Linked DNA regions of Homo sapiens: all the other regions are linked to region 2. Evidence: promoter capture Hi-C in human tissues and cell types (Jung and others, 2019). All regions are on one chromosome and are shown on one strand. The core of a region is centred on a gene start or on the middle of the fragment in contact, and the rest is flanking DNA. Distances in the headings are between cores, read along the strand shown.

Evidence for each region. The method cuts DNA at HindIII sites, captures the fragments that hold promoters and counts their contacts. A contact is called where the count stands out against the background at its distance.
Region 1: a contact is called between a fragment that was not itself captured here and the fragment with the promoter of EPS15 in region 2, in 1 of the 25 tissues and cell types used here (aorta).
Region 3: a fragment that was not itself captured here is called in contact with the fragment with the promoter of EPS15 in region 2 in 1 of the 25 tissues and cell types used here (liver).

What each region holds. Positions count from the first base shown.
Region 1 is chr1:51,837,812-51,841,112 of GRCh38, reverse strand. NRDC (nardilysin convertase) reads left to right here. Exons shown (of 31, transcript NM_001101662.2): 2 at 599-887. Among named protein-coding and RNA genes, the nearest start is that of MIR761, 3.1 kb to the right of the region's middle. The HindIII fragment of the contact is 3,482 bases long and covers 1-3,300 here.
Region 2 is chr1:51,517,178-51,520,547 of GRCh38, reverse strand. EPS15 (epidermal growth factor receptor pathway substrate 15) reads left to right here and starts at 1,282. Exons shown (of 25, transcript NM_001981.3): 1 at 1,282-1,349. The coding sequence starts at 1,317. It overlaps EPS15-AS1 (EPS15 antisense RNA 1), which reads right to left and starts at 2,276. Exons shown (of 5, transcript NR_183651.1): 1 at 2,102-2,276. It also overlaps a transcript of OSBPL9 not described here. RefSeq lists silencers at 1,059-1,248, 1,399-1,868 and an enhancer at 1,099-2,027. The HindIII fragment of the contact is 17,142 bases long and covers 1-3,370 here.
Region 3 is chr1:51,871,554-51,874,975 of GRCh38, reverse strand. The region is part of intron 1 of NRDC (nardilysin convertase); the gene reads left to right. Among named protein-coding and RNA genes, the nearest start is that of NRDC, 5.5 kb to the left of the region's middle. The HindIII fragment of the contact is 5,458 bases long and covers 1-3,422 here.

The DNA of each region.
Region 1 (3,301 bases), core at 310-2,809, 320 kb before region 2:
AAAGCAGAATAATCTTCCTGCGGGGCTACCAGTCTGTGGGGGATTTCATTTTCATAGAGATATAACCACTTTTTAGTTCATAAAGGCAGCTTTGGAGACTGATATGTCAAACATTTTATAGAAAAGAAAATCAGCAGTTTAATTTTGTGTGATTTTGCTTTAATATTAAGCTGACATGACTGTTCTGTATATTGAGGGATACAATTTATCTTAGCCTAAGTCTTCTGGTATGATAGAATGTTTAAATACTTACAAACTGAGAAATAGGGGAGGCTGAGTGGTGAGTTGCATATCTTTAGCTACTAAAATGTGTTTTTTGAATAGGTAAATATATTTATGTAGTTCAAAATTTAAAAATACAAACAGCGTATATTATGAAGTGTTCTTACCTTCATTTCCCTCCAGCTGTTCAAAAACTGATTAGCTTTTGGGGTTCCCTCTCCAGAGCAACCAATTTTATTAGTTTACAAATAGTTGTGTGTGTGTGTGTTTGTACTTTTACTTGGATTCTTTTTTTAAAATTCTGCTAAGCTGATTACTTGTATTGGTGTAAAGAACAGCTGAATCAAAATGTGTGATTTTTTTTTTCTCCCCCCAGATACATCAAATTACAGAATGGCTTGCAGGCACTTCTGATTTCAGACCTAAGTAATATGGAAGGTAAAACAGGAAATACAACAGATGATGAAGAAGAAGAGGAGGTGGAGGAAGAAGAAGAAGATGATGATGAAGATTCTGGAGCTGAAATAGAAGATGACGATGAAGAGGGTTTTGATGATGAAGATGAGTTTGATGATGAACATGATGATGATCTTGATACTGAGGATAATGAATTGGAAGAATTAGAAGAGAGAGCAGAAGCTAGAAAAAAAACTACTGAAAAACAGGTGCGAGTCATGTCTGTTTTCTTCTAATTTGGGAATTCTTTGGGTAACTTCTAAACTCAAGCTTTATTTTTTAATGGCAAAAAGGAAGTATATAGTTATCTTTTGGTCTTCAGTAAAGGTCTATTCTGTATCAGGATTACATTTTGAAAACATTTTCCTCCAATTATAAAAGTAGTAAATGCTCATTATATAAACTAATGGAATATAAAGAAAACAAAAATATAAAAATCACCCATAGCTATATCTCTCAGAGGTAATCAACACTCAGAGGTATTTGAATTTATGTGTATTTGTATACATTATATGTTTTAAAAACAAATACTGGTAGATGAGGAGCTGCAGAATTCTTAGCCTGGATTAGAGAAATAAGAGTATGTTATCCTTGGTGAGACTGGAAAAAGAAGAAGAAAAGAATGGGGCTAGTGTGAAATCTTTACATGGGCCTAGGGCTCTAAGAGTTATTGTATGGGTGGCTTCTATATAGATAATTAGATAATTGAGTTTGATTTAGCACTTTATATGGGAACGCAAAGGTCTGGACAAATAAGTACTTTGGAAGAGTTGAAATAGAAACTGGGCAGTTAAGCTTATTTAATATGTAACAACCATCAGTGGATAGATAAATAAGTCTTGATAGGGAGAATTTCTTAATATCTTTTGAAGAATACCTCCATTTTCATAGTAGGGAGTACCCAGAGGATAATTTTCGGAGCCAGTACAGTGGAATTGACCAGCAAAAGTTAGTTAAAGCTAGTTTCTTGAATATTGATAATATATTCAACATGGTACAGTCTACATACAAAGAGGCCGAGATGGGCAGATCACTTGAGTCCAGGAGTTCTGAGACTAGCCTAGGTAATGTGGTGAAACCCTGTCTCTCTAAAACATTAAAAAAAATTAGCTGGGTGTGGTGGCACATGCCTGTGGTTCCAGCTACTTGACAGGCTGAAGATGGGAGGATCACCTGAGCCCAGGGAGGTTAAGGTTGCAGTGAGCTTTGATTACACCACTGCACTCCACCCTGGCCAACAGAGTGAGACTTTGTCTCAAAAAAAAAAAAAAAAAGAAAAAGAAAAAAAGTGGTCACCCTTAAAGGTGGGAAGAGTTGAGGTATAAGTAGTAGATATGATTTAATAGTTATTCTTCTTGGAAAAAATTATTTTTTAAAAAGAAAGATTGTACCAGTTTTTTACTAAGTTGTTGGATTGAGTAATATTTTTAAGAAGCTTTTTCCTGTTTACTACTCAGATTATTAGTGATCCTGTTTTTGGGTAGCATGATAGACCAAGTATTAAATAGTTTTAACTTGGAAGGCTGTAGAGATGAACATCAAAACACTGGGGGAAAAAAAGGTATATATATGTCACTTGATAGTCTGTATGCTAAGGTCTCTATGAACAGATTGGAAATTAATAGATTCACTTTTAACTTAAAATAGATCTCATAATTCCAAATAGAGCATTAATAGGAAGAAATTATAAAAGTCACAAAAAAAAAGAACACTGACAGTCAGGAAACCTGGGTTCTACTTCTGGCTCTGTTCCTTTCTTTCTGCGTGATTTTAGGTGTTTTCATTTTCTTTCTTTTTTTTCTCAGTTTTAAAACAAGAATATAAAATTCTGAGGCCTATTTTAGCTCTAAGCCAGACCATGTTATAACTTCTTAACTGAATACTTCTTATCTATACTTTTTTTCTATATCTTTCCATCTATCTGTAAGTAGCTTTTCCCATGATCTGACTTGTTTATATTTCCTATTAACTGACAAAGCATTTAAAAACAGTTAAAAATTGTCTCGACAGGCATTTTAAATGTCAAGACATTATAAAATACTTTAGATTTATACAGCAATTGTGAACACCTTTGACAAATGAACATGTCTGTTCAGCCTTTTTGGTACCCCTTTTTATTTTGCTTAGGTAGATCAAATTCTAAGTTGATCTTTTCTAGCAGCAGGGTCAGAGTCTAGTGATCGTTTTTAAAATGGCTTAGATGCTACCTTTCTTTTCTGAGAACTCAGTGTGATATAATCCTTATAAGATATTGACAGCTAATTTTATGGATTATCCTACCGGGACAGTGGAACCTAAGTAGTTTGAAGACGAGAAATTGTTTTGATTCAGAAGCAATGGGTTCACTAGTGAAAGGAAAGATCCCACGATCGTAAGTGGTAAATGTTTATATTTGTTGAATAACTCTCTGAAAAAAGGAAATAAAGTAGATTAGCCTTGGTAAGAGGTGGCTTAAGAGTGGTTTTATGATCTAAGTTTTATTTGAAAAATGTGTGAAACTTGTTTAAGGTAAATGTGAGAATTAATAAAGGAATTGAGAAGAAAGATATTTGATCGTTTTTTGAATAACATTTACCTAATTAAGAAGTTAACTACTTTTCTGAGGCATCTTTTTTATCCCTCT
Region 2 (3,370 bases), core at 33-2,532:
TAAACTATGAGGGAGATAAAGCAGTGAGTCAGCCCCTTGTCCTCAAGGATTTTACAGTGCAGTGAGGTGGAGACAAACCCTCAACTAACGCTTACAGATAAGGCAGAGTATAAAAACGGTCACATCAGAACAACTTAGAGGTGGGGTGTGGAGTTCCTAGAAGGCTTCTTGAAGTAGGTGGTATATACTCTGAGACTTTGAAGATGAATTTCAAGTAACTGGGTATTCCAACTGAAGGTTGGCAGCATCAGAAGGTGTAGGATGTGTTATGTTTAATATAGGCAGGAACGAAGGCCTTTACTGAGCATGCACTGTAATGCTAGGGTCTGACGATATAGAAATATATTGAAAACAGTTCTTGCCATTGAGGAGCTCTTAATCTAGAGGGATAGATAGGTGTAAACTGTCATTAGGGTGATGACTTCACAAGGTAGAGAAGAAAGGTTATAAAGGAGAGTGTGTAACTCTGACATAAGGAAGAGAAAAAGATACTTTGCAAAGGAGGTGAAACTTGAATTATGTCCTGAGAAAGAAGGAGGAGTTTGCTAAGTGGATGATGGGAGAAGCTAGGAGTGCTACAGGCACCAGCGTTCCCTTGTTAAACAATCTAAATGTGACAGGCACCAGGCAAATACATTTTTGCTTCCCCTTTCCAAATGGATTTTGGCTGTGGGAGGGAATGACTTAATGTCTTCTTTTCCAATATACTAGCAGATGGTTAAATATTTACAGTTAGACTTGGATTCTAATTCAGCTATATAATTAGCTGTATGACCTTAGTAAGACACTTATTTGTGTTTCAGTTCCTTCATTCATACAATTCAAAAAATAAGAGTCTAGTACAGAGCCTGGCATATATAAAGTGCCATTATTATTTTCTATCATTATCTCATTTAGTCTTTGTAAGTAACTGGGCCTCTAGTTACAATTTCCCCCATTTTTCAGAAGCAGGAGCTCAGCGTAGGTAGGTGGCCTGTCTGAAGTTCACAGGTCAATCTGCAGTCGCCTCCGCAGCCCGTCCGCTTTAATTTTATGTCCGCGCCGGGTTTTCCAAGGCGGCCCCGGGGGCAGGCTCTGGTCCGGTGGCCGAGACTCCGGCGCCAGGGTTTGGGCGGCGCCGCGGCCGGCTCCGGCGGGCGGGCAGGCGGGCGGGGCCAGGCGGGGCGGGGCGGGCGTGGGGAGGGAAGTTGTGGAAGTTAGGGGAGACGCCCGCCCGCCCGCCCCGGCCTCGCCTGCGGCCGCTCCCTCCGCCTCCTCCCCGCCCCGAGCCCCAGTCAGCCCGTCTTCCTTCCCCTCCCTTGCATGATGGAAACACCATGGCTGCGGCGGCCCAGCTCTCTCTGACACAGGTAACGCCACACGCCCGTCCGCCGGGCTTGGCCGGCCGGTGCCCCCTCCCCCACCGCCCTCAGCTTCGCCGACTTCTTGGCTTGTGGGCCAAGCAGGCAGCTTCTTGGCTTGTGGGCCGGGCGGCCGGTGTGTGTGAGGGAAAGCGGGTGCGACTGCGGGAGGGCGCCCTCCGGAGCCGGAGCCCCCCTGCGGCCGCCGCGACCTCGCCCAGGGTCGTCGGGCGCCTCCTGCCCCGCCCCGCGCGGCCCTCGCCGCCCTCCGCGCCGCTGCCGAGTGGACTGTGACCCGGCCGCGCTCTGCCGGTGCCGGGCCGGCTCCCGCGGGGCAGCTTTCACCTACCCAGGAAGTTTCCTCCCACAGGGCCGCACGCATCCCAGGTGAGCTCCTGTTGAGCTCGCGCGGGCCGGCCGCACCCCCGGGCCGCACGAGGCTCGCCCGCCAGGCCGGCTGCGCGCCGCCCCCAGTAGGAGTTGCCTTCCAGAGCCGGACGCGCAGGCCCCCCAAGCCAGTCTTTCCTCTCCAGACCTGCCTTTCTCCCAGGGTCCGACGGAAGCCCTCCCTTCCCAGAGTTTAATGTAGTTAGCCTCGCCTCCAAAGAAGTCTCATCCTACTCAACTACCCACTCTGCCGGCCCCTTCCTCCGTTCAGCCTCTCCCCCCTCCTGATCAGGTTTCCTTCTGGGTCAGACCCCCAATGCAGCCTTTTGCCACCCACGTCTGCTTCCACTTCAACTTCCCCTCGGGGGGCTCACGCCTGATCGCTGTCCAGGTGGATCCCTTTAACGGGTGTGGTGGCTCCGCCAGTCTTGGTGCCAGGAACGGCCTCCCGGGGAGCACTTTTCTTGGGGGGAATCCTCAGCAAAACCTGTTCTCGAGCTTCCCTCTTGCCTCGTTGCTTCCTGTCAAAGTCCAGTCCTTGTGCTTCTCAGAAAACCTCTAAACATCACTCACACTGGGAACCTGGTCCCTCCCTCTCTGTAAAGAAGCCAATTACAATGTAAACATGGTGTCCGGGATGATAAGGTGACAGACACCTGCCAGTTCCTTCCTGCTCCTGTGACCCAAACTCTCCCCCGCGTCTCCTCAGACGGTTCTCTCCAGAGCTGGTGGCGCGTGCTTCCCGATTGGGGCCCATCCCGTCTTCCTTGCCTGCATTGTGGTATCTCACTGCCATCTTGTACTCCTTGGCCTAGATTCGTCGGTGCTTCTAAGGCTTTAGCGCTGGGATAGGGCAAACATTTCGGCAGTGGAGTTTTCTGTGTTTAAAATCAAGAGGCTTTGGGGTGCTTTGCCTAGCACTGTAGGATAGAGAGAAAAAAATGTTTTCTCAGAAACCAGGAGTCACGTACATGCTTCATGTAAAATAACTAACCCGTGTTTGCAGGAATTCTAAGTGTCATAAGGAAAGTCTATTTCCCAGTTTTTTTGATGGTGGTGGTGGTTGTCCTGTTCTGACAAGCAGAGAACCCTTTAACATGGAATGTGGTGGTTTAGTCTTGGTTATGTATGTTTGGAAGGGTCCTCCCAAAACTCAAATTTGAACAACTACAGCACTGACTTTTAGGTATTCACTTTCTGTGAGTCTAGTTAGTGACTTGCATTAAACAAGATCCCTGTTGGCAGGCTGTTGTTTTCTGGCTCTGTTGGCCAATTCTGGCAGGAGTTTTCCCTTGAAGATTTTGTGCTCTTAAAGACTTCCGTAAAATTGCTTCTCAGTTGTGTGCATACTTTATTCTCTCCCTGGGTAATACCATGTTTTTAGCTTCTATTTACATCATTCATCTCTGGAGAATTGCTTCAAGCTCTGTCAGTTTTATAGCCATTTAAAAAATTTACATATGTTCTTGGGTTATATATTTAGGTATTAATGTGTACACAGTAAGTACGGAATCAGTAGTAGCTATTATCCTTCAGTGCCTCACATATGAGATAATATACATTGGTGGTTAATTTTTATTGATAATTCAAATAAGTAAATTCAGAATATTCTGATTTTAAAACATGAAGAGGCAATAAGAGGG
Region 3 (3,422 bases), core at 200-2,699, 350 kb before region 2:
TATTATATATCTTTTGAATAAGTACCAGAGGAGGACCCATTTAGAGGAATATTGTGGTGAAATAATACCTTGAAAGATTTACCAGTCTGCATTTATTAATAGCCTGCGGAATTTTACTTCAGCATATGTGTAATTTGTATTCCGCTTTTTTGAAATGTTGGGCATATTTCCAGGACACCTATTATGCTTTTTTAGGGATCTGTATTAAATGCTTACCAAGTATTGATTCCCTTCCCTTCTGGAAGGGTTAAGGGACTTCAGGTTGGGAATTGATATTCAAATTTTTATTGGTGTTGAGTGGAAATTCTGGTTGGGCAGGATTAGTAGTGGTGTATTCTATTTATTTTTTATTTTTATTTTTATTTTTGAGGCAGGGTCTCACTTTGTAACCCAGGCTGGAGTGCAGTGGCGCCATCACGGCTCACTGCAGCCTCGACCTCCCAGGCTTAGGTGATCCTTCCACCTCAGGCTCTCCAGTAGCTGGGACTACAGGCACGTGCCATCATGCCCAGCTAAGCTTTTGTAGAGATGAGATTTCGCCATTTTGCCTAGGCTGGTCTCAAACTCCTGACCTCAGATGATCTGCCCTCCTTGGCCTCCCATAGTGCTGGGATTACAGGCACAGGTGAGCCACTGCACCTGGCCTGGCTGTGGTGCATTCTGAATAGTAAATTTTAACAATGAAGAACACTTAACGTTAGGTATTTTGGATTGACTAAAACAAGTACAGAGCACTTTCCATGTTTAACCTGCTCGTAAAAAGACCTGTATTTCTATGGAGAAGGAAAGAACAAATGAAAAGGTATGTAAACTTCTTTTTTTTTTTTTTTAATGATTAAAAAAAATTTTGAGACAGGATTTCAATTCATCGCCCAGGCTGGAGTACAGAGGCACCATCACAACCTGCCCCACCATGTCCGGCTAATTTTTTGTAGAAATGGAGGTGGTGGTGGGGGCAGGTGTCTCACCAAGTTGCCCAGGCTGGTCTCGAACTCCTGACCTCAAGAGATCTGCCTGCCTCTGCCTCTCAAAGTGCTGGGATTACAGGTGTGAGCTACCACGCCCTGTCGAAAAGGCATATAAACTTCTGAAGGGCAAGTCCTTCTAATTTAAATTTTGGTCAGACTGTTACAAGTGAGGAGATGGTTATCTTAATAAATTTTCAGGCTGGGCGTGGGGGCTCACGCCTGTAATCCCAGCACTTTGGGAGGCGGAGGTGGGTGGATCATCTGAGGTCAGGAGTTCAAGACCAGCCTGGCCAACATGGTGAAACCCTGTCGCTACTAAAAATAAAAAAATTAGCCAGTTGTAGTGGCAGGTGCTTGTAATCCCAACTACTTGGGAGGCAGAGGCAGGGGAATCGCTTGAACTTGGGAGGCAGAGGTTGCAGTGAGCTGAAATTGTGCTACTGCATTCCAGCCTGGGCAACAGAGCAAGACTCTGTCTCAAACATAAATAAATAAATAAATAAATAAATAAATAAATAAATAAATAAAAATTCCATATATTATAGAAAATAATGGGTGGGTGTGTGCTGAATAAGGTACAGGCTATTTCTGAATATTATGTTGTTTACTATTATATGCTGTGGAACAGGAGGAGGATCACAATTCCAGTGAGTGGAACAGTTGCATTGAGAACACTAACATTTGTTGGCTTCCTGAATAGTTTGCTAGTGAAGTGGCTCACTTCTGAGCAGAAGCCTTTTGCTCACTTTGGCAGCACGTATACTGAGCAGAAGCCTTATACAAATCTGAGGTATCAGAAGAAAACTATACACCAGAAAACAAGAGAACTTTTTTTTTTGTATTGGATGGGAAGAACATAGGTTTATTTGTTGATATTTACAATGAAAACTCCTGGAACCGTAATGCTTCATTCAATACATGAGCCAGTAATTTCATTTGTGTGTGTTTCATTTCACACACACACAGACACACAAATATTGCTAAAATGATCACAAAATCTCACAGCTACAAAAGAAATCATTATGACTTCCATGTGTGTAAATTCCATGAGATTGACAATTCCTTAGTCTGATAACAAATGAACAAGTGAATCCAAATTTCTTTTTGTTTTGCACTCTCACTTGTCTTGTAAAGTAAAGGTAACCTAGGTATTACTTCACGAGATTCAAACTCATTTAACAAAGTAAGTGCTTTTAAGATTGAAATATGTTAAATCTTATGAATACTAGTATAACTTTAATAAACATATCTTTTGTCTCTTACTATTCCTTAGACTGATTTCCTTATTTTGTTTTGTTTTGTGTTTGAGACAGTCTGGGTCTGTCACCCAGGCTGGAGTGCAGTGGTGTGATCTCAACTCACTGCAGCCTCCACCTCCCAGGTTCAAGCCATCCTCCCCACCTTGGCCTCCTAAGTAGCTGGGACTACATGTGCACACCATCATGCCCAGCTAATTTTTGTCCTTTTTTGTAGAGTTGGGTTTCGCTCTGTTGCCCAGGCTAGTCTCAAACTCCTGAGCTCAATCAGCCCACCTTGGCCTCCCAAAGTGCTGGGAGTACTGGCATGAGCCACTGCACCGGGCCTGACTGATTTCTTTAAAGTGGGCTGATGGGCTAGTAAGAATAGAAAGAGTGTATATTGTTTCTAACTGAAGTTGTGTGTGTGTGTGTATGTCTGTGTGTTTTAGGAAAATAAGATTTAGCATTAAAAAGCTCTCTGTTGGCCAGGTGCAGTAGCTCACACCTGTAATCCTAGCACTTTGGGCGGCCAAGGCAGGAAGATCACCTGCCTCTGTCTCAAAAAAACAAAACCAGAACAAAAAACTCTCTGTTTTTCTGACTGGGCGCCGTGGCTCACGCCTGTAATCCCAGCACTTTGGGAGGCTGAGGCTGGTGGATCACGTGAGGTCAGGAGTTGGAGACCTACCTGGCCAACATGGTGAAACCCTGTCTCTACTAAAATACAAAAATTAGCTGGGTGTGGTGGCGGATGCCTGTAATCCCAGATACTGGGGAGGCTGAGGCAGGAGAATCGCTTGAACCCGGGAGGCAGAGGTTGCAGTGAGTCAAGATCGCGCCCACTGCACTCTAGGCTGGGCAACAGAACCAGACTGTCTCAAAAAGAAAACCAAAAAACAAACAAAAACGCCCTGTTTTTAAAGAACTGAATGATGGTAAAAGCTCTTTTGCTTTTAAGAAGCTTATGATCTGCTGTAGGAGAGTCAGGGAGCAGATACTGAAACTGAAATGCATTAAATATAATAGGTGCTAGAATAGGGATATGTAAAGTATGACTTTTTGTTTTGTCATTTGTGTTTCTAGCTTGCTGTCTACTGGTTATGTGACCTTTAGCAAGTTAACTAATGTCTCTAAGGCTAAGGATCTTCATAAGGACACAGAAGAAGAGCAACCTATAAACAATTGAAATTGAAAAGGAGCAGTTGGGAAGCAGGTG